7 separate regions of the Homo sapiens genome follow, and all the other regions are linked to region 2. The links are contacts of gene promoters, found by promoter capture Hi-C in blood cells and fetal thymus (Javierre and others, 2016). All regions are on one chromosome and are shown on one strand. Each heading gives the region's core, a stretch centred on a gene start or on the middle of the fragment in contact. The rest is flanking DNA. Distances are from core to core; before and after follow the strand shown. Region 1 has its middle 17 kb from the start of CPN2. Region 2 holds the start of OPA1 (OPA1 mitochondrial dynamin like GTPase). Region 3 overlaps MB21D2 (Mab-21 domain containing 2). Region 4 holds the start of ATP13A3 (ATPase 13A3). Region 5 overlaps ATP13A3 (ATPase 13A3). Region 6 overlaps MB21D2 (Mab-21 domain containing 2). Region 7 overlaps MB21D2 (Mab-21 domain containing 2).

The links. Contacts are between HindIII fragments. The CHiCAGO score rates a contact against its expected background, and 5 or more counts as called.
Region 1: a contact is called between a fragment that was not itself captured here and the fragment with the promoter of OPA1 in region 2, in 7 of 17 cell types (fetal thymus, total B cells, non-activated CD4 T cells and 4 more). The highest score is 7.9, in fetal thymus.
Region 3: a contact is called between a fragment that was not itself captured here and the fragment with the promoter of OPA1 in region 2, in 4 of 17 cell types (M0 macrophages, M1 macrophages, M2 macrophages and 1 more). The highest score is 25.2, in M0 macrophages.
Region 4: a fragment that was not itself captured here is called in contact with the fragment with the promoter of OPA1 in region 2 in 4 of 17 cell types (fetal thymus, naive CD8 T cells, total CD4 T cells and 1 more); the score reaches 8.2 in fetal thymus.
Region 5: a contact is called between a fragment that was not itself captured here and the fragment with the promoter of OPA1 in region 2, in 3 of 17 cell types (naive CD8 T cells, naive CD4 T cells and total CD4 T cells). The highest score is 5.9, in naive CD8 T cells.
Region 6: a contact is called between a fragment that was not itself captured here and the fragment with the promoter of OPA1 in region 2, in 3 of 17 cell types (endothelial precursors, M0 macrophages and M2 macrophages). The highest score is 10.6, in endothelial precursors.
Region 7: a contact is called between a fragment that was not itself captured here and the fragment with the promoter of OPA1 in region 2, in 6 of 17 cell types (M0 macrophages, M2 macrophages, M1 macrophages and 3 more). The highest score is 27.0, in M0 macrophages.

Annotation. Positions count from the first base shown.
Region 1 is chr3:194,332,224-194,335,908 of GRCh38, forward strand. No RefSeq gene overlaps it. Among named protein-coding and RNA genes, the nearest start is that of CPN2, 17 kb to the right of the region's middle. The HindIII fragment of the contact is 1,634 bases long and covers 658-2,291 here.
Region 2 is chr3:193,591,830-193,595,397 of GRCh38, forward strand. It overlaps OPA1 (OPA1 mitochondrial dynamin like GTPase), which reads left to right and starts at 1,379. Exons shown (of 31, transcript NM_130837.3): 1 at 1,379-1,580. The coding sequence starts at 1,549. It also overlaps a transcript of ATP13A4 not described here. RefSeq lists enhancers at 1,041-1,692, 1,088-1,157, 1,208-1,257, 1,693-2,344, 1,858-1,937 and a silencer at 1,478-1,627. The HindIII fragment of the contact is 1,567 bases long and covers 818-2,384 here.
Region 3 is chr3:192,839,229-192,843,103 of GRCh38, forward strand. The region is part of intron 1 of MB21D2 (Mab-21 domain containing 2); the gene reads right to left. Among named protein-coding and RNA genes, the nearest start is that of MB21D2, 77 kb to the right of the region's middle. RefSeq lists an enhancer at 1,303-1,352. The HindIII fragment of the contact is 1,604 bases long and covers 1,674-3,277 here.
Region 4 is chr3:194,484,928-194,488,505 of GRCh38, forward strand. It overlaps ATP13A3 (ATPase 13A3), which reads right to left and starts at 2,075. Exons shown (of 34, transcript NM_001367549.1): 1 at 1,639-2,075; 2 at 867-908. ATP13A3-DT (ATP13A3 divergent transcript) reads left to right here and starts at 2,213. Exons shown (of 2, transcript NR_033929.1): 1 at 2,213-2,245; 2 at 2,529-3,578. RefSeq lists silencers at 1,315-1,374, 1,465-1,514, 1,545-2,204 and an enhancer at 2,875-3,094. The HindIII fragment of the contact is 1,515 bases long and covers 944-2,458 here.
Region 5 is chr3:194,402,467-194,406,322 of GRCh38, forward strand. ATP13A3 (ATPase 13A3) reads right to left here. Exons shown (of 34, transcript NM_001367549.1): 34 at 211-3,650. The coding sequence ends at 3,453. Among named protein-coding and RNA genes, the nearest start is that of GP5, 5.1 kb to the left of the region's middle. The HindIII fragment of the contact is 2,692 bases long and covers 806-3,497 here.
Region 6 is chr3:192,797,179-192,800,885 of GRCh38, forward strand. MB21D2 (Mab-21 domain containing 2) reads right to left here. Exons shown (of 2, transcript NM_178496.4): 2 at 1-2,472. The coding sequence ends at 1,208. Among named protein-coding and RNA genes, the nearest start is that of FGF12, 71 kb to the left of the region's middle. The HindIII fragment of the contact is 2,206 bases long and covers 239-2,444 here.
Region 7 is chr3:192,818,828-192,822,570 of GRCh38, forward strand. All of the region lies in intron 1 of MB21D2 (Mab-21 domain containing 2), which reads right to left. Among named protein-coding and RNA genes, the nearest start is that of FGF12, 93 kb to the left of the region's middle. The HindIII fragment of the contact is 6,078 bases long and covers 1-3,743 here.

The DNA.
Region 1 (3,685 bases), core at 225-2,724, 740 kb after region 2:
AGGTGGGGCATCCACACGTCCACCCAGGCTTTCAGCCCCTAGTTACTCAGTGAAGATTTTGAGGCCTGGAGAGAGGGGGCGTGGCTTGTTCACAGACACAGGTCGCAAGTGAGGCAGAGCGGGTGCCACAAATCAGGCTTCCTAACTGTGATGTTCAATTTTAGGTGTCAACCTGAGTGAGCCACAGGGTACCCTGATGACACACACCGTTCCCAGGTGTGTCTCTGAGGGCGTTTCCCGATGACATTGACATTTGGAAAGGTGGACTCAGCACAGCAGATCCGCTCCCCAGCCAGGGCAGGCACCACCCAATCCACTGAGGGCCTGAGTGAACAAAAAGGCAGAGGAAGGAGTAACTGCCCCGCGTCTTCCTGCCTCACTGCTGGAGCGGGGACATCTCATCTCCTGCCTTTGCACCGGGATTTATATCATCAGATCCCCTGGTTCTTAGGTCTTGGGACTTGGATGGAATTACACCACCGCCTTCCCTGGGTCTCCAGCTTGCAGAACCTGAGATCTCTCAGCCTCTGCAATTGCATGAGCCAATTCCTATCTATCTATCATCTCTTGTTGGTTCTTTTTGGCTGGAGAACAGACTAATACACGAATCTGTCCTTTCCCTCCAAATGCAGCTGGAATCTCTGCTCCCCTTTACAAAGCTTCTCTGCGAAAGGATCTCTCACGCCATGGTGGGAAGGGGAGCCTCAGACCCATAGCCTCCACCCCGGGAGGAAAACAGGGCCAGGACACACCAGCAGGCCTCCTTTGATGAAGACCATGTGGTTTTGCTCCTTCTGTTACTTTGACCTCTGAACCGCACCCCCACAGACCTAATGATTTCCTGGTAAATCATTTGTAACACCCGCTTTAGTCTCCTGAAAAAAAACTTCACAGATAATATCGTCAAACCTCGCAGAGAATTTAAAAATAAAACCTTCTATCTGTAATATTAATTAGAAGTCAAAGGTAACTTATAATAAAAGAATTCGTTTCCATGTGGAATGTTTGGCCAAGATCTCACTAACAGACTGGAAGTCACTGTCACTCACTCACGATGAGTAAAGGATGAATTTGTGTCCGTGTTTGACATTTTGCAATCAGGGCTAAGCATTGCCTCGGGATAAAGATTCCCAAAGTGCTGAACAACTCTTGATAAAATCCCAAAGAAAACAAAGCACAGTCTTCCCAGGATGCACGTTGCCAGGTGCGGTCCTGAACCGCGCGTCCACGTGGCAGCAGCGCGCAGCAGGAGGCTCCCAGCTGAGATCCTCGAGGACGGGGTTCGTACCACATCGGCATCTGGAGGTCGCAGGGGACGCTTGGAAGCCGTGGAGGGCGCGGGACGAGTCACTGTGCAGGACCGCGGCAGCGCGGGGACAATCTGGAGCGCCCCGAACGCTTCGCCGCCCCACCGGGTGGCGGGTGGACTCGCCTCCGCCCGGCGGCTCCTCGGTGCATGGGCCCCAAGCGGACCTGGCGCTTTTTCAGGCGTGCAGGAGACAGAAGCCGTGACGGCTCCGCACGCACGCCCGCATGCACTCCGGCAAGTATCCCCCGGGTCACCGTGTCAATGTGCCCGTATCCCTTCTAGGGGACCCGGTTCTGACTTTCCAAGAATAAAGTACCGCGCCGCGCCCGCGGGCGGAGCTGGGAGAACCCCTCCCTGGCCCTCCACGTCTGCGCGGGGCGCGTTCTTCCGTGCGACCACAAGGGGGCGCTCCGAGACCAGGCTCGGGACCTCTGCAGGCGCAGACTTAAAATGCTTGCAGATGCGCGCGTGGTGGAAGCAGGCTGAGAGGGCCAGAAAGCATTCGTCCTTGGACTCGCATCGCGCTAGACAGTCTAATCTTTGACGGCACCGTCCAGTTTTCCAATATCCACTGTTAGCACTGAACAATTGTGTCAATTGCATTTCCAATCCTCCTAAACAATGCAATTTTGATATATAAACAGCAGTTTTTACGTTCTTCCAGAAACAGATCAACGGGAACAGGTAAAACAATTGGCCGGTGCTTGCCTACCCCGTCCGCACCCACACCCACAGTTCTCTCTAGAATAATACTAACAAAAATAATAATGCAAGATAACGATTTTGGAGAACGTACCATGTGTCATTGTTGTGGGTACTTTATATGGATGCACTTATTTTATCTTCACCAATAACACTATGAGGTGGGTGCTATGTGATAAAACTATGGTGAGGACACTGAGCCACAGACAGCTTAGTAATTTGCCGAGGGCTGCATGACTGGCAAGTAGCAGGACATCACTAAAGAAGGTACAACATTCAAAGCTTCCTGGAAGAGCGTCCTGCCTGCTGGAAGGAGGAGCTTTGGAATGTCTTAGCCATCCTTTACTATAAGAAAGCGAGGCAGGCCGGTGGCGGTGGCTCACGCCTGTAATCCCAGCACTTTGGGAGGCCAAGGCGGACGGATCACGTAATCAAGAGATCAAGACCATCCTGGCCAACATGTTGAAACCCTGTCTCTACTAAAAATACAAAAATTAGCTGGGCATGGTGGCACGTGCCTGTAGCCCCAGCTACTTGGGAGGCTGAGGCAGGAGAGTCGCTTGAACCCAGGAGGCAGAGGTTGCAGTGAGCCAAGATTGCACCACTGCACTCCAGCCTGGCAACAGAGGGAGACTCCATCTAAAAAAAAAAAAAAAAAAAAAAAAAAAAGCAAGGCAGAGCGCACCCCCAGCTGCTGTTTCTTCAAAAATGCAAGATTTATGAGAGCACTAATGCTGAAAAATTAAAAACATCGGCCGGGCGCGGTGGCTCATGCCTATAATCCCAGCACTTTGGGAGGCCGAGGCGGGCAGATTGCCTGAGGCCAGGAGTTCGTGACCAGCCTGGCCAACATAGCAAGAACCCATCTCTACTAAAAATACAAAAAAAAAATTAGCCGGGCGTGGTGGCGTGTCTGTAATCACAGCTACTCGGGAGGCTGAGGCAGGGGAACTGCTTGAACCAGGGAGGTAGAGGTTGCAGTGAGCCAAGATCGTGCCACTGCACTCCAGCCTGGGAGACAGAGTGAGACTCTATCTCAAAAAATAATAATAATAAAATACAATGAAAACATCAACAAGAAAGAAAAAAAATCCATGAAATATTTTTATACATGATGTTTGTCACTTGTTTCATTCATGAATTCATCCAGAGCAGACACCAGGTGGGTCTGAGGAGGCCAGCATTGCCCAGTGCAAATTACACTGAACCTAGCCCTGGACAGTGCCCGAGACAAAATTCTGCCTAAATGTTCAACCCTGGCCATGCGTTAGAATCGCTGGGGGAGATTTAAACAAAATGATATCTGGGTAACCCCAGTGTTAGGGAGGCAGGAGCCTAGAAGAGACAGAGTAAGATCGTCTGAAAATCAACTCCATCCCAAAGCTAGCAAGGCATATTCCTTGCCAATCATGACCCATGGTCCTAAGATGTTTACAGCTCAGGAAGCAGCTTGGGAATGGCTTGCAAGAACAAACCCCTACAACAACAGAGAGTCCAGGTGTCCCAGTACCCGCGCTGCGCCCAGGAGAAACTGAGATAAAACGAAGCCTCGGGAAGGGAAACCCCAGACGCTCGACTTTGTGACACAAAGGCCCCAGAGGGGAGGGTGGCTTTGCCTGCTCAGCACACATCATGGCTGCTGCTAAGGAGAAGGAAAAGGTTTGAGGTGTAGGG
Region 2 (3,568 bases), core at 129-2,628:
TATTTTATTTTCTAAAATAACAAGGAAGTAACGATTACAAAGACACTTTTTGTACAACCCTACAATCCCAGGAAGATCTACAGTTTGCACAGGTTGGTACAGCAAATTGCTCTCTGGACCTGCCATTGAAACAGTCACCACAATAAATAAAGAAAATTCTAAGAGTCCTGCATTTGGGAAGTTTACTATCAATGGCTAGGTCTACTCTTGGTGGTATTGTGAGTGCATGGGTCCAGACTTATGATTCTGACAATTAAGGGAAAAGGAATTGTCTTTATGCTCTGTGTATTTGTGTATGTGTGTGGCATGGGTGGGGGGCGGGTAGTGGGGAGGAGGTGAAAGGTCCCTGAAGTAAAGAGGATGCACAGGACCCTTTTATTTTAGTCCCTAAAAATTGGCTTCATAACCGTTCACAGGCCACATCCCTTTTACGGGCCCTGGTTTCCTTACAAAACATAAAAGGTTTGTGTTGGAAGGGGAAAGGAGTATTTAAAGTGATGGAGGAGAGGAGCTCAAGATGGCTGAGATCTGGGCCTGTCCAACATTGAGAAATTTGGGAGGGGAGCCATCAAAGAAGCCTGGGAGCAGCAGTTCCAGGGAAAAAGGAGAATGTGATGGCCAGAGAGCCAAAAGAAAAAGTAGTTGAAGGAGTGCTCAGCACTAGGCATCTGAACTGAATGCTGTGGCAGGCTCACTGGCCACAAACAATAGGGAGCTGGTGGAGGCCTTGACGAGGACCATTTCAACAAACTGGTGGGCTTAAAATCCGGAAGAAACAGTTGAACAAATCATTTTGACGCCTTTTATAAACCACACAAGCTTATTCCAAACCCGTTACTGGCCTAACTGATTTAAGTCCCTTTCCCATCTGATCCTCAGAGATTCTAAGGGACTTAGCCTATCCATGACTCTTCGTCCTGCTTCTCACCTCCCATGATTGCCCTAACGATGTGAAAGTGCTTTCAAACAAAGATGCCCAAGAAAGAAGGTAGGCAAATGTGCAAGCATTAGTTTGTAGTACGCTATTACTGTATTTCACCTTGCACTCTCTAGTTTCCTTCGTGCTCCCTCAATATCCAACTCTTAATAAATTCATGGCTCCCGGTGAGCATTCATCAATTCTCATTCCACGCCTTTAGCCCTTCCCGTTCCCGCCCAACTCTCGCTCCCTCCCCTGGCCAAATCTCTAACCTGCAAGGCTAATTCCGAATTCCAAATCGGAAGCAAGAGGGCGGGGCCCCGTGAGAGGCGATGGATTGCTCCAGTCCGTTCCCGACGCACTGTGCGCATGCGCTGGTCCTCCGCGGACCGTTCGTGCTGCCCGCCTAGAAAGGGTGAAGTGGTTGTTTCCGTGACGGACTGAGTACGGGTGCCTGTCAGGCTCTTGCGGAAGTCCATGCGCCATTGGGAGGGCCTCGGCCGCGGCTCTGTGCCCTTGCTGCTGAGGGCCACTTCCTGGGTCATTCCTGGACCGGGAGCCGGGCTGGGGCTCACACGGGGGCTCCCGCGTGGCCGTCTCGGCGCCTGCGTGACCTCCCCGCCGGCGGGATGTGGCGACTACGTCGGGCCGCTGTGGCCTGGTAAGTGCAGGCTCTAATCTGGCCCCGTTAATTCTGGGGCCTCTTGAGAGTGGGGCTGTCTTATCTCTATCTCCAAAAATGTGCAGGTGACTCTCAGGCCAGGCCGACGGCAGTTGGAGAATTCCCAGATGTTCTTGAGGACCCAGAATGACAGGAGCCCTGGCTGGGCTTACGTTCGGAGCCGGCTTCAATACTGGCCCTTTTCTCTGGCCCTACCCAACCCGAAAATTCTGGACGCCTCTCAATCTTGGCCCGTCTCTATTGTCCTTTTGTCTCTGCCCTTTACACCCTTGTGTCTTCAGTGTTCTGTCTGTCTCTGGTTGCCTCTTTTGCCTTTTTTCTGTCCTCTCCCTGCCAGGTTTGGCTCTGTCCATGAGTCACCTCTCTCCACATTTCTCCTAACTCTCGGTGTCTTCTTTTTCTTCCATTTCCACGCCATGTGTACATTGCATCTTCAGGTACCTGGGCTCTTCTATCGGGGAAAGGGGCGTCCGTCTCTTTCCCTAGCCCGCTGATAGAAGTCAGAACTAGAGCAATGACGCACACGGTGTCAGAGACGGTGATTCGAGATGCCCTTTCAATAGCAGCTTTTTTCTGTGTTTCGGGAGGGAGACTTACTTTTTGATGCAAGGTCGTGAACGTGGCACCACCTTTCTAATCTCAATCATTGTTGCCCTGGGGTGGTTTAATTCTAAATAGAAAATCATAGAAATCTTTTCATTTCTGTGCGTTACTATATGCATTGTAATGAGATTAAATTGGATTTTATAGGAAATTTTGTTCTAGTATCATTAGATACCTTCAAGCTTAGCTCATTGTTGCAGGCATTTGATAGGAAGTAAGATGCATCAAGCAAAATTGGAAAAACGTGGTTTTCCTGAATTAACTTCTAAGCAGTTGTTTTGAATTTTTTCCAGACCTTTTTAAGTGGTATAGATAATTTATCGTGTTTATAAGGAATGGAATGCATTCGTTAGTTTGTTTTTGTTTTGTTTTGAGACGGAGTCTTGCTCTGTCGTCCAGGCTGGAGTGCAGTAGCGCTATCTCGGCTCACTGCAACCTCCGCCTCCCAGGTTCAAGCAATTCTCCTGTCTCCGCCTCCGGAGTAGCTGGAATTACAGGCACGCGCCAGCACGCCTAGCTAATTTTTGTATTTTTAGTAGAGAGGGGGTTTCACCATTTTGGCCAGGCTGGTCTCGAACTCCTGACCTCATGTGATCCACCCTCCTCGACTTCCCAAAGTGCTGGGATTACAACCGTGAGCCACCGCGCCCGGCCCAATTTGTTTTATATAGGTTAACTGGAGTCCAAAATACAGAACTAGATGAGATAACAATAGTTAACAGTGTTAGTCAGTTAGAATTATTGCATAGGTATTTTTAATCTCATGGAATTTTAGTCTTTGAGTAAGTTCACAGCCCTTGGTATTAAAGTAAGTTATTTACAACCCTTGCATTTCTACTTCTCAATATTTAGTGAGGAAACATATCTGATTTTCTTTAAATAAAAAGAGAAAAGACTGCAGAAGATAGCATTCTCTGTTGGAGCAATTAAGATGTATAAGAAGAACTACAAAGACGGAGTTTTAAAACAAACTGATTTATAAGTGGTATTTATTTAATTGGCTGTCATTGGGCTAAATTATTTCTAAAGTTACCATGGATGCCATTGAGTCATGGCTTAAAAATGTCTCCTGGTGATGGCACAGTTTAGCTACCTAAAGAAGTAGAGATGTGGGAAGCCAGAAGCCCCAAGCTCTGCAGTTTTTCTTTTGCTATAGTTCCTTTGCATGTTGTGAAAGAATACAGTTAAATTCCTGCTCCCTAACAGATGAGAGCATAAGCATTTCTTTGGGCATACATATGTAAATACATGCTCATGGACATGTGAAAAGATCAATACTAACATTTGGGTGCAATAAATAATTGTGTAAAATTATTTTTAAAAGAATTACATATTAGGAAATGATATATTGATTAAAAGTGATA
Region 3 (3,875 bases), core at 1,226-3,725, 750 kb before region 2:
TGAAGAGGTCAATACAAACAGGTCACCTTAATTCCTTTTGCATGTACCCACTCTGGATTTACGTACCTTCCTTCTAGGAGCAAAACAGCCTTCTGTTTCTCTCTGGGGCACTCTTCTTCCTGCTCCAAACTATGTTTTCTTTCTGCTAAACCTGTCCTACCTGTGGTGTTCCTGGCAATTAGAACTGGATGGGCCCTGTAAAATGTACTTAAACAAGTGCCCAAATGTTACTTCATCAAGCAACTCATCTTGAAGACTTAATTGCTCCCTAAATGTTTAAATGTCCATTTACATTGAAGGTGACAGTAAGAAGAAATAGCACATAAATATAGAAGTTTCTGGAAATATTTTGTATTTGCAGGTATGTCTACATATACATATATGTGTCTGTGTGTGTGTATATTATTTACCTAAGTCTAGATCTAGATATATGTAAAAACAAACTAGCAAGACAGAATTCTACTGTCATCAGAATGGGAGCTTTCCCAGAGCTCCAGAGGAAGGAATTTGATTCAGAGTATAGCCGCTAAAGAAAATGTCAATCTATATGTCAATCTATACAGAAAACAACCTTCTAACCACCTAGGAGCATAAAAGTATTTGAGAAAGTTCATTCTCAATTCTTTTTCAAATCCCTTTCTCATCTTTTCCCAGTATGTTCAGACTTTTTAAAGAGATTCAAAAAATTCCGTTTTAGGGAAACTCACTGTGGAGAAGCATGTAACATGAAACCACCCCACAGCCACTGCAGGTAAAAAATAAAAAGCATCCCTATGCAGAGATAAGAAAAGAGATTGGAAAACAATATTTAAAATTCCTCCAACCATTGGTGGGTAGAAGACATACTTCAATAAAAATGTTTCAAAAAGAGATATCTTTAGCCAATAAGCCAAAAATCTAAAGATCATTATAAGTCTAATGTCCCCTGCAGATATAAAAGATGATCATGAGAGGGAACACAAAAATTCGAGGCGTTCAAGTTTCAGAAAGCCACCTGCAGTGTTCCCCTTTCTGCAGAAAAGGGCAAATAACTGAAATTAGAAACATACATATTACACATTTTCAAAGTCAACCAAAAGGACCAGTATTTTGTTCAAAATGAAAAAGAAAATCAAAGCTCCTTTATTGAATTCAACCACCGTAACTTTGTGCTTGGGAGTATGACAAAGACTTTTTTCTCTTTTTTCTTTTTTTTTTTTTTTTTTTTTTTTTGCTTTTCCTAGAACCTCCCTCTGAAGCTAAGTCGTGGTATCCAGAGAGCGTTATTGGGAGAGTTCCCAATTTAGTTTCCAGCGCAATCCCTCTAAGCCTAGAAAACTCAGAGACTGTTCGCAAGAGCATCACTTGTTAGAAACAGATGAGTGAGGCGCTATGGTAGAAAGTTTCTCGTGGTGGGAGGTGACCAGCTGAATCTCCCCAGATGACTTAATGAGAAAAAAACTGCTAAAACATGGTATTCATATGGGCCTCTTAAGCTCCCTTGATCAGTAGAACAGTCAGATAAATCAGAGGCTTTGGATAGGCAACTGCTGAACAGATGAAGACCAGGAAGATGAGGTTTTAGTTGGTTAAGACAACTTCTTGGAAACTTTTCCCGCCTGAAGATTGTTACACACAAATACTTCCCTGCAATCATTGGGAGCTTCCAAGTTGTTCCTTTTAATTAACACCAAAGCTTATAGACAAGAGGCAGGTTGTGGAAAATATTTTATAGAAAGCAAAATCAGCATACCATTTGTATAGTGGACAGAACATGGGTTTTAGATTTAAAGACCTAGGAGTGAATTCACATGTTCTGTCACATAGTAGTTGACTGACTTAGATAACCAATCCTTCCAGGCACCAGTTACCTCTATCTCTTAAAAAAGGAGGAGAGGGCAACACATTATTTTGAAAACAAAATAATTATCTACATGAAAAGCACTTTGGATGAAGTAAGGGAACCACACAGTCAATGAGACCAGCCTGCAAACTTAAACAGTGCCAGGCTAGCTGGCAAAACAGAACACATGCATGCTAAAACAATATAAGGCAGGTGTAGCAGCCAGCCTGCCAGGTGGCCCCTAACAACCCCACCTTCGGGTATTCACACCCTTAAGTAGTCACCTCTCACCTTGTATCAAAGGTAGCAGTCAGTGTAACAAATAAGCGTGATGGTTTTTACATCCAAGATTGGGTTATAAAAGGCATTGCAGCTTCAATCTTAGTCTTTTGTCTGTCTGTCTTTCTCTCATCACTCACTTTAGAAAAGCCATCTGACATGATGTTGAGTAGCGCTATGGGGAGGACAAAGTGAAGAAGAAGTGAGATCTCCTGCCAAGAGCCTCACAGGCGAGCTTGGAAGTGGATACTCCAGCCCAGTCAAGTGTTCCAAAGGCTGCGGCTCTGGCCGATAGCTTGAACACAACCTTATGAGCAACTCTGAGCCAGAGCCACCTGCTAAGCCACTCCCAGATTCCTGACCCTCGGAAACTATGGGAGATAATATGTATTTGTTGTTTTACAGTGTGGAGTAATCTGTTACACAGCAATAGGTAACTAATAATACATTAGGCTTCGCTAGGAGTTGCTAGGGTTTGGAAGAGCAAGAAATCCCTAAAGGTTAGGGGTTCTTTGTCAAAGGAACATGTTTTGAAGGAAGGATGAGTTTGTAAGAAGTGGTAGAGTGTAATATGCTGTAGACATGAGTAGAAGTGAACCAGGCAGAGGGGTGAGAGGGTTTCAGAAAAGCTCCGTGGGCAGTGGGTCAAGAGCCAGGGATGGCAGGCCAGAGTGTCTACGCTTTATACAGGCAATGGAGCACAAGCAGGGTGCTTGAGCAAGGAGATGACTGGGAAGTAGCTAGGAGGGCGCCACTCGGGGGGCATATAAAAGATGAAATAGCTGTTGTAAAACCAGAGGCAGAGAGGTCAACCAGGAGCCTTCTGTAACGACCCTGTGGGGGAAATAAAGAGCTGAACTGGGGCACAGCTGAAGTAGGAATGGATTGAAGAGATGAATGGGAAGTACGGCAGGAACATGGTCTACCACGTTGAACACTGGCCTCCCACGGCTGCCCGTCAGAGCCAGAGGTTTCTAACCACTCACTTGGTCATTGAATATGTGTGCATATTTAGTTCTGTGCCTGAGGACAAAGCTACCACAGGACACATTTTTCAGTCAAAGCACCACCATTCATGCATATAACATGCTGTTCTGGTATACAATGCATTGCACCACAAAATTAATGCCATAAATATTGTAGACGTTATAGACACAAAATTATAGTAACTATGTAAGCTTCGTTTCCTCTTAAATCAACTCGGCCACAAGAACTGACTCCAAATTACACTATCTTTAATAAAATGAAGCCAACTAATAATAATGATAATAAAAGAGAACACATGGAAGTAATACAGAGAAAATTCAAAAAATAATCCTTTATAACACTGACAGGTCTGAGGAGGAAAGGCCTGAAGAACAATATTAGTATTATCAATCTCATCAAGTCATCCTATGTAACAAAAGAAAAATCATCAATGGAGATTCAAGGAACATTCAGATCCAGGGATTTTTTGGTTCTTTGGGAAGTGGACACGGTCCAATTACTCCAAGGTTGTCACATCCACTGTGCATGTTAAGTGCAGTTAGGGCCATTCTTGTGGAAATTATGGCAGGAAAACTGACAAAAGGACCCTAGCCTTTGGCAGACTGTGTCTTTGACTAACAGAAGTCTTAAGAGACTGGAGGTAAAGAAGTTATCATGCCCTTGGGGTGAAAAGAGCACATGTGGCCTTTCCTTCCCAGATACACAAGGTTAGTGCCCAGCTAGCTTAGAATGCATGGGAGGTCTTTTAGCCTACACTCATTTTGTAGTTAGGAAAATTGAGGCTGAG
Region 4 (3,578 bases), core at 451-2,950, 890 kb after region 2:
ACACCTGAAATCCCAGCTACTTAGGAGGCTGCGACAGGAGAATCGCTGAAACCCAGGAGGCAGAAGTTACAGTGAGCCGAGTTCACACCACTGCACTCCAGCCTGGGCAACAGAGCAAGATGCCATCTCAAAAAAAAAAAAAAAAATTTAAAGCAACCAAATAGTGTCACTTTTCCTACCCAATCCCCTGACCAAAGCCAGGCATTGTTGTTCTAACAAGGCTCAAAATCTCAATTATTTCACTCTCTGCCTGATCTAATGGTAGGATAATGCAAATCAAAGATACCAGCAAAAGTTATGTTCTACAACAATCATTAATAATAGGTTTACTACTTCGAACAACTTCCAAGCACTGATTTGCCTTAAAGGGGTTGCAAACCAGGATGAGATGCCCACACACATTGATTTTTGGCAACTGTAGTCTATTAAGCAAAGCAACAAACCTCTAGAGAAAATAATGTCACATATATTCCAGTGAAACAAAATTAATACATGTACCTTGGTAAAGAGGCTGAGCTCTAACCAAAGATAGAGCACTGTTCATTACGTACTCACCCTTCAAAGGAATCAAATCGAAACACTTTCATTTTAACAACGATACTTTTTAAAGGCTTTATTTTGCAATAATCTTTCAAGTCCCTGCATTTCTTAGATTCCTTAAATTCTAACTTCCTGCCTCATAGATCTAAAGTAGCCATGACATACCCAGGTATGTTCTACTCATTTAGTTAGAATCGTATAGAGGAACACAAGTCTGTTTCTAGGTGTACGACTCCACACCCATTCATTTTGCACTAATATAACCACTAAATATAGCTCTAAGACACTGATGATTAAAAGCGGCTAATTATGTGAGTGATTCATACCTCCTATGTCCAAACACCAAGATTCAGGGATGTCTGTCAGATCTATGGGAAGAGGAAACAATAAACACCTGTCACAAAGCTTCTTCCACACCGGGAAGCCCCCAGCTGAGTTCCTGCCAATCCCAACCCGATTCCCTCCCCCTTCATCCCTACCCCTCACCTCCCCAAAAAAGCCAGAGGTCATACTTCCACCAGAACCTGACTCTGTGAAGGGAATGGAGAGACAGAAAGGCCATAGCGAGAGTGGCCACGAGAGCACTGCTAGGGCAAAGGGCCCTGGGTTTTTCTAGTCCTCACTGCCACAGAGTCCGAGTGGGAGGCCTCAGGCAAGTCAGAAGTCACTTTTCCTCCACGGGACTCACTCCTTTTATCTGTGAAATGCGGAGATGGCAAGCAGCTCCATACTCCACGGCTGAGGACGAGCTAGGGTCCCGCACAGACTCATCGAGGGCCCTGCCAGCACCCCTACGCCTCTGCCCACAGGACCTCCACCTCCCACAGGACTTTCCGAAAGCTCTGACTACCAACCACCAAGCGCCCGGCCCCCACGCTCGCCCCCGGCAGGCGGCGCGTCCCCCCCAGGCCTTCGCACCCACCGCGTGGGCTCCTGCCCTGGCCTCACCTGCCCCCGACACTCCCCGTCCCCGCGATGCCCAACTCCGGCCCGAGAAGGCTGGCCGCGACCTCGCCCGGTACCCGCCGCCCCGACACCACCATTCGCCTCCTCGACCTCCCCCGGCGCCGCTGCCCACCCGCCCCTCGCCCCGCTCACCGGGGCCGCTCACTGGCCGCCGCCGCGCCGCCTCCTCCGCGGCCTCCCTCGCGGCCGGACCAGCCCCAGGGACCGCGGGGGACCCGGCCGCCGCTGTCGCCGCCGCCGCCTCGCCTCAGCCCAGCCCCATCGCCCTCGGCCGGCGCCGCGCGCTGCGGCTCAGGGTGAGGGAAGGAGGCGCCGCGGCGGGGCCGGGCCGGCCCTGGGACGTCCGCGCTCTCCTCCTCCTCCGCGCCCGCGGCGGCGGCGTGCAGCCGGCAGGGCGAGAACAAGGGAGGGCGGCGGGAGGTGGGCAGGGGAGGGGGGCGGTCTGCACTCCGAAACGGCCCCCCCGCCGCCAGCGACGTAGAGAACCCCCCTCCCCTCCGCGGCGGCGCCCGATCACGCTGCGGGGAGAGCCGGCAGGCAGGCGGGGGAGCGCGCGCGGGCTCAGGACTCCCGCGCCGGATGTGAGGTCACGTGGTGGCTTCATCCCCGCGCGGAGGGCGGAGGGGCGCGGGCGACGTCAGGAGGCGGGGAAGGGGCGGGGAGGGGCGGGGCGATTTATAGGCCCCGCCCACCCATCGCCTTTGCCACCCTCGAACGGGCAAAAGAAAGAAAGAGGCAGGTAAGGGGAGGCGAGGCCGTCCAAAAACGCTGGGTGTCAGCCCGGGGTGGCTAATGGAGGGCGGCTTTTCTGGTGGGATGAAATGGAACGGCAAATCCCACTTCATCCCCTTTGGGCTATGACAACATCATAGTCCAATCTCCCATTTTATGAACAGGGAAACTGAGGCTCAGTGACTAGACAGACGTTGCCCAGAGTCATGGTCATGGAGGAAGCTTGTGCTAGAATGGTGGAGAGGAAACCAGAGCCCAGCTCCTAATGCAAGGCTCTTTCATTCCTTTAGCCACCCTCGCCCCCGCCAAAACAAACAGACAAAAAACTGTCATTCTCATATGACCACGGACTCTGCGCCCCGGCCGCAGGCGGAGGACAGGGAGGAGCGCACACGAGAAAGCTCCCACGCGCCCGCGCCTCGCCTCCGACGGGAAGGCGCCTCTTCCGACCGTCCTGGATGCAAATTAAATACTTCCCTCCGCAGAAGACTTATCTCGGGGTAGGGCCGCAGCCGGATTTCCAAATCGCGGGTTTGATTTTCGCTGCGTCCTCTCCGCGACGCGCGCAGGGAGCGCGCCCGGCCACCTGCAGCCTCTGGCTGCGGCCATCTTTCCGCCTGGGGCCACCTGGCCTGCGCCCTTTGTGCCCGGCCCGCTCCGTGACTGTTCTTCTTGCCGCTACTTACAGAACTCAGCCGCCTTAGCGTCTTAGAGAAGAGGACGGCATGCATGCGGACCCCGTCCACCACACCTGGAGAGCAGGGAGCCCTTAGTCCCTGGACACTTACCAGGGCCGCCACCCCTGGTCCACGCACGTGATGACATCTCACCAGGGGCAGCACACCGCCCGAGTCCGCGACACTGATAACACCTCCTGCGGGCAGGAGGGCGCCACAGCCACCCCTGGTCCCCTAGATTGTGTGAGGCTAGCATTTCTGCCCGCCTCTTGGCGTGGACAGCACGCTGGACCGAGATGGAACCACAGCTTTCTCTTCCCAATCCCTGGCCTCACCGTTTTGTTTCATACCTCACCGTTTGTTTCAAACCTCGTGGTGTTGAAATGATTAAATGAGATTAAGGGGTGTGTGGTAGTGTTGGGCAAACCACAAGAAAACGGTCTGGGTGGGGTCTGGCCCTAAAATCTTCCTCCCCCACCTCCCAGGCTTCCTTGCCTTGCTGCTTCCTCTCAGCCTTTAAACAGGTTGGCCTCTCCAAGTCCTAAAAACAAAATTATCAAGCCAACCTCCTCCTGAAGTGCTCCCTCCAACTAGCTTCCAAGTGTTTCATGCGGACCTCAAACAATGGTCTTCCCTGGCTGCCTCTGCTTCCTCATTTCTCAA
Region 5 (3,856 bases), core at 902-3,401, 810 kb after region 2:
CATCCGACTGTGGGGTTTCCCCAGGATGCTCACACACATGGCATGATATGCAGAATGTTGTTCTTATTTCCTTCAAAATCCAGTTTTTTTTAAAAAAAAAAAAGAAGGAAATGGGGAAGTATTATTAGGCAGGAAAATAAATCCACAAAGGGCAGTATTCATGTCACTAAAAAGCAAACAAATGAATAAAGACACAGAAAAAAAGTGTTATTTCATTCATTAAAATTTTTATTTTGAATAGCTTCAATCAAAAAAGGTTTCATAAGATTATTTACAATGCTGAATGTACAATTATGAATGTATGCCTTTTTGACAAGAGGGTACCATTCTTGAGCAGCAATACAATTTTAAAAATATAAAGATGCAGTATCATTTCTGATATAAAGTTACTTAAAAAAATCCAAGGTCTTAGGGAATTCACAAATCATAACTAGAAGTAACTTTTATTAATTTAATGTACACATAATTACCAAATTTTAATACATTAAAAATGTGTAAATGCCCACAGACTGTACAAAAATTAACACCCCATTTTGTTAAAAGTTCCCAACCACCTCCCACCATAAATATACAAAAACCTATTTTTAGATATGTCAAAATTGCATGCATGAATATTTTCTAAAGCTTGAATTTTGCTCTTCACTGGATAATGTTATCTATAGCTGTTTCTGTAACAGACTACATAAACATTGATATATTATTTACCATGCCTTTGAAACTGTGCAGGACTTTCATAAACATGGGGAACAAAATAAATAGAGTAAAAACTGCAACAGTTTTGTTTAGATGCAAGTGCAATTGGGAAAGCTTTCGAATTTCAGGATTATAAAACTACTATAAAAGTATTTATTCTGTTGTTGGCTTAGCCACTTGTATTCAAGCATTATTTGCAGCATTGCTTTACAGCAGTTGGTGCTAGAAGATACAAAACATATAGTTACCACTATTTATACTTGAGGGAGAAAAAAAACTTTAAACAACCCTGAGGGAGACACACATTAAAAATCTTGTTATTTATTTAAAAAGTTAAAAAGTTACATATCATTATTTAACAATTACTTTCCCAGACATTTCTGTCCTTTAAGTATGTGCATAAATAAAATTTAAATCAGCAATATTCATCTTAATACATCAAAATAATATATGTACAGATTTTAAAATTTAGGTCTGTATAAACTCAAATAATTTAATGTGAAATTCAGAATCAAAATTACTATGTAATGGTAACCTACGAGAGAAGACTCAGTCTATCTATGGCACTGAGTAGAACCCACACCTGGCTTCACAGGCATTCTTCAAATAACATTCTCAACGTGAATAACCCACCTTGTCTATATTCAAATCTAACTTCCTACAAATGCTTTTCCAGCCACCTAAACACCTCATTCCTTTGAAAACAATATGGACAGAAGAGATATAAAACCCTTACTAACTCTAAATGTTAAAAAAGTGGGGGGGGGGTGTCAAAAATAGCTCTTTATGATCATGCTCTTAAAGATGTTAAATACAATCGGATAATTGAATTTTTAAGCTGCTACTTAGCAATTACTTTCATTATATGCTTCAGTACTTAAACCAAAGAATAAAATGCACAATTGTGGAAATCACTGAAGAATAACACGAGCATATTTGAAATTAATATGGAAATTATAAAATGATCCAGAGAATAAGTAACTATAGAAAATAGTGCTAATTCACAGCTCAAGAGGTCTAAGATGCATAGCTTCATAGAATCATTCATGGAACAACTGTTATCATCTAATGTGTATTAATAGCATATTATACATTTGATGGAAAACTTCGATTATATTTTTGCAGGAATCATCAGTGGCAATAGCAGTAACAGTGATCCTGAGTGTAATTTCTATTTTTCTATAGTTACCAAACATCATCCAGGTCTTTGCAGCATAAAGAGTGAGAACCATTTGGTCCTAAAATTCTAGGTAAAATTTGGTAAATTTGTAAATATATGTTGGGAAAAGAATGATCAGCTAGAAGTAGAAAGCACGAGCAAGCATGTTACTGGCTCTGGAAGAACAGAGAACAATGTCACACTGTTTTCATAGTTTAGCGTCCATTTTATAGCACGATCAGTTTTCTGTGTTGTGGTAACTGTGGGCGTTGCCAGACTGCTGGATCCACCTATAAAAGGTGTTTTTTAAAAGTTACCTTAATTTTGGCAAGAATTTAAATGTTAATCAGGCCAAACAGAAAGGTGAAAAATGTTTCTCCACATCTCTTTTGGCTCAATGAATGTCAATTTTTTAACTTTATTTCCTCAATTTTTTTTCTCCCAGAAATTTCCGCATCAAATATGCTCATTTGTAACGATCCAATTCAAAATAGACATGTTCTGACCTCTGGCGCCACCTAATGGCATAAAACAAACTCATCAAATTCATATTGCTTTGAAAAAACGGCAGCCATTCAAATCCAGTATTTTTTAAGCCTCATTATTGATAAGACAGAGACATACATCAAACCTCAAAAAATTTTATGAGGTAAAATTCTAACTTAAAAAAAACTATTATCCTATGTCTTTAGGTAATTGAAAACATAGAAGAAAATTTTAAAAAACCATTTAAAATAACACAAAGCCTGACAGAAACAAATTTGAAGAAACGTTAAAAGATGAATCTACATCTACTGCCGAAAGAAATGAATCTTATTTCCTAGTGAAAAAGGTTCTACAACATTTAACAGAAGCAAATTAGACTGCCAACACCACACATAGCACAGGAGCCATTTAAGAGCTTTGAGAGGCGTCTCAAGAAGGCAGTGAAGCACCTTGCTGATTAGAAAAATAAAACCCAGGCAGTTTGTACAGAAAATATAAAACCAGAAATGGAGATTACCTGAGTTGTTCTATAAGCAACACCATAAACACTCATTCCTAACTCTAGACCATCATAGGGAATTGGCATATGTTTATACAGAATTCTTTGGAAGAAACATTGGAATCAAATGAAAACAGGCTTTCAGTATATTTTCACTGGAGGCTAATTAACACTCATCTTCTTTTTATCAATCACAAACTTACAGCCTGTATATAAACACAGACTTTTCTAACAAGAGGGTTGTGAGCATAAATGTGAAGAGGTAAACTAGTCTCAAAAACTAATGTTGAAAAACCTACCAAACACCAAACTTCTCCTGTACCCAATATAAAGAATATCACTGAAAGTAACAATCAAGAAAATTCTGGAAATGTATGTAATATTTGGGTTGCTGAATGAAGATATAGGACTTTATGGATTGATTGTTAATTTAACTGTTAGGACGATATATTTTTCTGTTTTTATTTTAAGGAAGAGCAAAGCTGTCAAATAAGCTACTATATCAGAAGGGACATAAACTGAACTAGTGCCATTCTGACACACAGGATCAGAAACTCCTAAAATCACATATTCCTGAATACTGCTATCAGCAATACCACTGAGACTGATTCACTGCTATGTTATGGTGATGATTTGACATGATCCATTCTCCTTAACTAAAGCTTTAGCTTCTGTGGTTGTCTGAGGTTTTGGTGGCCATTCTGGATCAACCAAGAGCTCCTGCGCCAGATACATGTACTTTGCCTTTGGTGTCTTCTTTCTACAGCCCAGGGCCCAGGGTAAGCAGCATTTTCCCCACCGATCCACTGACTCCTAAGAAAATAAGAAAAAAACAAAACAAAACACCCCAGTTGATTAAAGGCTTGTCGTTTTAAACAGGTTTGTTAAAGCACACATTAGCAGAGAAAAATAAGAGGAAATGACTTCTGAGCACAACGAATGGGGGAAAAAAAAATCCATGTTAAAAAAAGGCAGCTTTGGCCGGGCGTGGTGGCTCATGTCCGAAATCCCAGCATCTT
Region 6 (3,707 bases), core at 92-2,591, 790 kb before region 2:
TGCCACCCACAGATATTTCCTGGGTGCTGCTCTATAGCAATACCTGCTTTTGAACAGACGTGGTATCTTCTATTTGGGGATTATAAGTTCTTCCTGCCAGTTTTTCTCAAAACTCTCAGGAAGAGTAGAGATTTTACAAAAAAGCTTACCTCTATGACCCCAAAAGAAATAAATACAAAGACACCTACTTCATCAAGTGTATATTTTCCCCAGCTTTAGATGGGGTCAACATGTATAAAGCTTTAACAACTTCTCTCAGTAAGACAGGAACCAGGAATATCAAAGAGGGCAAAGCAGGACCCCACAACTGAAGGAGAACTAAGCAAATGCAAAGAATCATTTCACTGATAGAAATGGGCAAAATGAAAAAATGATAGAATTTCGAGAGTGGTTGTTAATTTATATTGAAACACACTTTGCAATTCTGACAATGGCAAAGATTAGTGCAAATAATAATTATAATGGTATGTTCTTTAATAGGATTTAAATAAGGCTTCAAATAATTACATATGCTAAAATTAACATTTGGAAACCTTAATTCTGCTTGGAAAACTGTCAAAGACACCCTTCAAACCACCCAGTGTTCTCTGATTTGAGGACAATTACATTCAATGAAGTTGCTCCAAAACACAATTTGTAGTATTATCACTTTCAAAGTTTACATTGTTTGGTGGAAAAGGGGGGAAACTACTCTGGTCACTGGCCAAAATAAATAAATCCAGCTAACATGCCAAGTAGTTCCCAGGTTCATATGATTCTCAAATATCAGTAGTGGTGAAAGCTCATAAGAAAAAAGACAAAAACAAAATAATAAAAATAATAGGATAGAATCGTTAAGCATCAGAAAGAGATTTGTTTCCCCATACCCATGAACAAATTTGCACCAAGTATGAAACAGAAAAAAGCAAGAGGATTCATGGGCATTTTCATCTATGGCTTAAGATCTCCTTAAAAAGAAAAAAAACTCCAACAAACTAAAGAGCATGACAATAACTACAAAAAGTAAACAACGAAATCAGAGGCAGAATATGAAATAGTAATATACTGTTTCAGAGCCTGCACCATCCTGCAGAACCAGGAAACTTAAAATTTGTTCTTAACAAATCCAATCTAGGCTGGATATGTAAAAAACAGAAAGATAGCATCACAAACCACACGACACATTATCAGAGTTTAAGAATCAGGAAAAAAAAAAGTCAGCTAACACTCAGAAAAATTTGTCATCAATTCTGAAATGGGGCCTTGTGACATCGTCAGGATTGATAAAGACAGAGATTGACTTTCCCGGGTTCTCAGTCACTAGCTGCTGCAGTTTTTTTGCCAAACGGTCATCAGGCTGGTTGGGGTCCCCTCCGTCAGACTGTGGAGAGGGGATGCTGGTGGTGCTACCTCGCCTCTGGAGCTCCAGTGTCAGCCGGTTGGCTGCCTTGACATGCTCAATGGCGGTGCGCAAGTGCTCTGCCGGGTCTGAGCGCACAGAGGACAGCTTCCGGGCGTGAAGCATGACTGTCTCCTCAGACAGATGTTCCAGCATGTTGCACTGAGGGATGAAATAATTGGGGCACATCTTGTTGACCAGACAGTGTTGCAGGTCATCGATGAGGCCCAGCAAAAAGTGGGCTGCATAGTCTTCTTGAGCCAAGTAGTTGGCAGGAAGTCTGTCGCAGGCCCAGAGCATCATGCTCCGCAGGTGATAGGGGCTAATAGCCTTGGGCCGGGACAGCAGTTTAATGATGATGGCTTTGCAGGCCTGATAGGCCTGCATGAGGCTGCTGGAGATGCACTTCTTCAACTGCACCTCGCTCCTGGCAAAGGACAGCCGCCATTCATTGTCCTTCTTACCCTTGTAGGAGCAAGCAGGCACCAAGTAAAACCCACTGATGACCTCTTCCTCAGTAATCTTCCCATCCCAAAAGTGGTTCTCCATGAGCCAGCTCTGGGCCACTGCAGGCCAACCTTTGAAAGATACCACAGGGACAATATCATACAACATGCGACTACTCCCTACACCCAGAATGATGGAGATGATGGTCCCATTTTTTTCCACCTTTTCTACCTTTGGCATCCCTCGCTGGGGTTTCTTCTGTATTTCTGATAGGACAATGCTGATAGAGTCATAGAACCAGTCAGCCACTTTGGTAGGTGAGAAGAAGTAGTTGGTGGCACCATTGATGTGATCTACAATGGTGCAGCAGTCTTTCCATTTACTGATTGTCCCCTCATCAAAGAGCCGAAGGCTCAGCCAAGAGTGGCACAAGGCTGAGTGGCGCATGTCGAGTGTCACAGGCTGATTACGGTCATGCAGCTTGAGGGCTGGCACCAAGAGGGTAAAGTCCATATCATAGTCAGTACCCCGGGCATAGACATTAAGCTCATCTAAGTCCAGGTCCACCACGCCTTCCCGGACACCTCCAGAGAGCAACAGGTATTCATTAGCCACTGGAAGCTTTTGGTCCAGCTTTTGCACCATTCCTGGAAATAAAGAAGAAAAAAACAACACTATTACAGGAAACACAGACATAAGAGTCTTATGCATGAAACAGAATGCTCTGATGTTCCAAGAACCAAAACTCATTATCAGTACTAAATCAAATCTCAGGCTGCTGCAGAGACCTGGCCAACAGTACTTTCTCACTAGTGCTAGAATCCACCCTTTTCCAAATGCAAGAATTATGATAGATTTTTCTCTCTCAGTGTGAAAAGCAGTATCGTTTTCAATAATAAAACAGGGCCCCTCTTCCCCCAGTCATCATCTCAGTTAATGGAATTGCCATCCACTCAGTTATGCAGACTGAAAACCTCAGTACATTTCAACTCTTTGCTGCCCTTCTACTGCCAAATCTTTTCCATGGAACCTCTGCCAGGGTTTCTCACTTCCTTCCCTGTTCTCCATCTCTCCTGCCATCATATGAAGTTCGGCCTTTTTTATCTATTGCCTAAGCGGTTTTCTTTCCCCAGGCTCTTTGCGCTTACACTCTTCTTTGTACCAGCGGTTCTCAGTGTGGGCTGGAGACACTTTCAGGGGTAATGAGTTCATAACTCTCTTTATAATAATACTAACACACTGTTTGACTTTTTTTTTAAGAGACAGGGTCTTGCTATGTTGCCCAGGCTGGTCTAAAATTCCTGGCCTCAAGCAATTCTCCTACCTCGGCTTCCCCCAAGTGCTGGGATTACAGGCATGAGCTACCACGCCCAGTCTTGTCTGACTTTTTTACTGTGTTGCCATTGTACTAATGGCACAGAAACAAGGGAGGATAATATTGCCAGTGCCTTAGCAGCAAAGACACTGATGCCAAACTGTACTAGCAGTCAGTAGGTTCTTTACCACTGACATGCATTAGCAATTTTTTTTTAAAAAACCCAGTTTTACTTAAGAAAATCCTTGATGGAGAAGAAAAATAAGTTATTTTATTGAATCTCAACCTCTGAGCCATTAGAAAGACTATCTTCCTAATAGTCTGTGTGATGAAATGGAAATAACCATAAAACCCGTCTTCCTCATACTGAAATAGGAAATCTGTCTTCAGGAAAAGCACTCACGTAACTGAGTTGTGAGCTGAACTAGCCTCTTTGTTCATGGAACGCCATTTTTACTTTAAAGAACAACAGAAAACTATGGCTATTTAGATTTGGGTATTTGGTAGACATTTTCTTCAGAAATGAACAAAATGAGCCTGGCTTCAAGGAAACTACTGACAATATTT
Region 7 (3,743 bases), core at 1,046-3,545, 770 kb before region 2:
TGTTATATAAGTGCCTAGACCAGTGCTCAACTTAACTGGAGATAGAAGGCCAACTGCTGGTCTTAATAAATGAATGATGACAAGGTCCCTCAATACAGTTCCCTTGAATGTCAATTGTTTGAGCCAGTTCTCAATTAACTGAATATCCGAGAGGCAGGAATTGAGTTTTTTTTTTGCTAGAATCTGAACTGCCAATGGAAATGCTCTTGGGCAAGACAGGCTGACCTGACCTGGAATATAAGTGACTCATAGTTTTCCTGGAGAGCTGAGCATGTCTGAAGAATGCTAGATCCCAGGGCTCCTGAAGAGGGAGAGGCCATCCGGGGGCAAAAGTGAAGGGAGAAGAAAAGAGAGATAGGAATCAATGTTTACAGAGTATCTGCTAAGGCCCAGTTATATATTAAGATTTACATGCAAAAATCTTTGAGACTTAATCCTCAATTGACAAGAAAAGAAAGTCAGGCTCAGTGGTGAAGGGGTTTGCCCACGGTGACTAACACAGGGTTGCCTGAATCCAAAACACTGGCTTTTCACGGCAAGGGTGGTTTCCAAACCTAGCACAAGGGCTGGGCCTCCGGAGAAGCCCTGTAATTAGTGGAGGGTGAAGGTGGAAGATGAAGTGCAAGGAAAGAATGTGACAGTCAAGTGAGCAGAACCTGGGCCTCCCACCCCCGCTTCGACCACTTGGATCGGTTTTACTTATTGGGCTTCCTCTTATGCTTCTATTTGAGGGAAGAGTCCTATAGTTTTAAAAGGGAGATGGAGAAAGGGTTAGAAAATCACTGCATCATATCAAGCTGCCTATTTCCCAATTCTGCCTGAGGCTGGCCCCTCAGCAGAAAAATAAATCAGTGCTTACAAAAGATCTTCTATGCAGACCACTGCTGGAGTGGTCCCCAAGTCCCCTCTCTAATCATTCCAAAGCTGTCTAAAAAGACTTTACTTTTCGCCAACTGTACTCACTTGTTCAACTATTTTTACCCATTTCCAGGTACTCCAGCTTGGGAGGCACCTGACATCCATCTGTGAAAGTGCAGGCAGCTTGGAGAGCAGGCCCTGCAGCTCCTGCTCTGGGGACAAGCTCTGCATCCCAAGCTCTGAACCTGAAGCAGGACACCCAGGGCCTAGTCCTGGTGCTCCCTACAAGGGGGTAGGGGAATCAGCTCCTCTCCCTAGGTTTCTGTTTCCTTGGCTACCAAGTAAGTTGGGTGGAATACATGGTTTTTAATGTCCTTTCTGACTTTCAGGACTCTATACATAAATAAGTGTGTTTGTGTTTCTGTGGGGAGAGAAAGGGGAGGGAGATGCGATATTAAGAGTGAGTTTGTATAACAGCAAGTCAGAGCTAAGATGTATAAAAGTACACACCCCCCAGAAACACACAGAGGTGTATGCAGAACCTTCAGACAGATTTCTCTAAAATTTATGAGTATCATGAAACAGATTGTAAAAAAGAAAACTATGACATTATGAACGCTGATCTAACTTAAGCACAAAGAGCAAAGTAGACCTTTAACTCCCCCGAGATAACAACTTCGGATAATACAAAATGTAATTTCAGATCTTTCCAAAGGCCTTTCAAAGTCCAGGGATGAGGTTCTGTGTTGCAGGGAAAGGACTCGTACAGAAGTTTTGTTAAAATGATTAGAAAGAAAATAACAGGCACTGGATTTACAGCCAGTCTCTGGGCAATGAATGATTTGTCACCTTTTTCTTCTGTTATTGATTCTCGCCTATAGACAGACGAGGAATGACTGCTGATGAAAGCGTCTGCGTAGCGGCCACTCAGACTGTGTCAAATATTCCTCCGGCGTCCCGCCCCGGGCTCTCTCTGCAAAGGCCCAACCTCCTCACAGATGCTCCGCTGCCTCGTTCAGCCAGCATCTGGAGGTACAACTTCTGACTACCTAACTCGCGCTCCACCCTGTTTTCCATCCCCCCAAATCTTATTTTCTGACACAGGGGCTCGCTCTGTCACCCAGGCTGAAATGCAACGGTGTGATCACGGCTCACTCCAGCCTCAAACTCTTGGGCTCAAGCAATCCTCTCACCTCAGCCTTTTGAGTAATCAGGACTACAGGCGGTGCCACCACACCCAGCTTTTTTTTATATATATTTTTTGTAGAGATGAGGTCTCGCTATGTTGCTGAGGCTAGTCCCGAACTCCTGGCCTCAAGCCATCCTTCACACCCATCCCTCACAAATCCATTTTAAACAAACAAACAGAACATTACGTACCCTTCAAATAACAATGAACACATCGTTTATTTGACTAATGCTGCTGCCTTCCTGATATTGCTAATGTCACTATCCACCACCACCTGGGCTCTTAATAACATCACTCATTTACTGGGCACCTACTTTGGGCCAAAAGGTTTCTTGTGAATTGTTATTAATCTTTATAATGCCCTCTTATGATGAAGACCTTGAGGTTAAATAAATGCTCAAAGTTACATAGTCAGTGGATCTGATAGCTGAACCAAGCTCTCTGACTCCAAAGGTAGGGTTGACTCACAAACATTTCATCCAGGTCAGTAGTGTGAACTATCCACACCTGCTCCCACCTCATTCCTCAACCTCATCTCACAACTTCGCTATTGCCCTGGGAGACCGCAGAGCACCTGCAGCTTTCAAACACTATGGGATCCAGAAATGAAGGAAGCTGGGAGATCCAGGCACAAGCAGGGAGCACCAAACCTAGAGGCAAGTTCTCAGTCCAGAATTTTCTGCCCCTTCCCTCTCTTCTTGCCTAATTCTACCAATTAGGTTCATTGTCACGATTAAAAGGGAAACTGGAAATTGCTTTCTGGAAGTTAAGGCGCTAATTAACATTTACTCTTTGGTTTAAATGTCTGGAATTGGAGAACAACATTCTTAACGCAGCAAAGAACACCAGCCCTGCCACAGTGGGAGTTGGATTCAGAGTTGACTGAGTGATTTGGAGGTCTACAAAGTGCCATGATGGGCCGTCAGGGTCCTGGAAGGTCCTGAGGACAGAAGTAGGAGACAGGGAGGCAGCAAGAGGCAGCACCCAGGAAACCCTTTGTCAATTTCAAAACTGTGCTCAATTTTTTTCTCTTCCTCTTCCTTTCCCTCCCCTCCTATACAGCCTCCTACTCCCCAAACCCAAGATAATAGGATGAGTACTGCATTCCGGTTGCAAACTGAGTTAAAATGGCACCTGTGAACCCAGGCATTATTTGAAATATCTTTACATGGAAATACGTGATCTGATTCTAAACAAACAAGTGTATACCTATCGCATTTCTAAATGTGAGGGAGCTATTATTCACAGCAAGTCCCTGAGAAGCTAATTAAATGTGCCACAAACAAGCATAACAGTCCAACAGAAAAAAGGCGGGGTGGGGGTGGGAGGTTGGAATGGGGCATCTGCTTAAAGTTTTCATTCCTAATAAGAGATGTTTCTAAATTGAGTTGAAGAGAGCTTGTGATACATTGGAGAGTCACTTACACTGTTTCACTTCAATTACTGGTTTCTCCCCAAAATAAGATTCAACAGAAAAGGTGACAGGAGTTCACCTCAGATACCAGTCTCAACAGGCATGGAGGCAGAGACTTCATTAATAGTATAGGAACTCACCAAGTAACTTTATTCCTCCCACCCCTTTTGGATATCCACATAGAAGTTCTAATAGATGTAAGAGCAAATGCAAATCACTGGCATTGTAAAGAATAAGGTCCACCACGGGGAAGTGCTACTGGGGACCACGAGGAAGCATGAA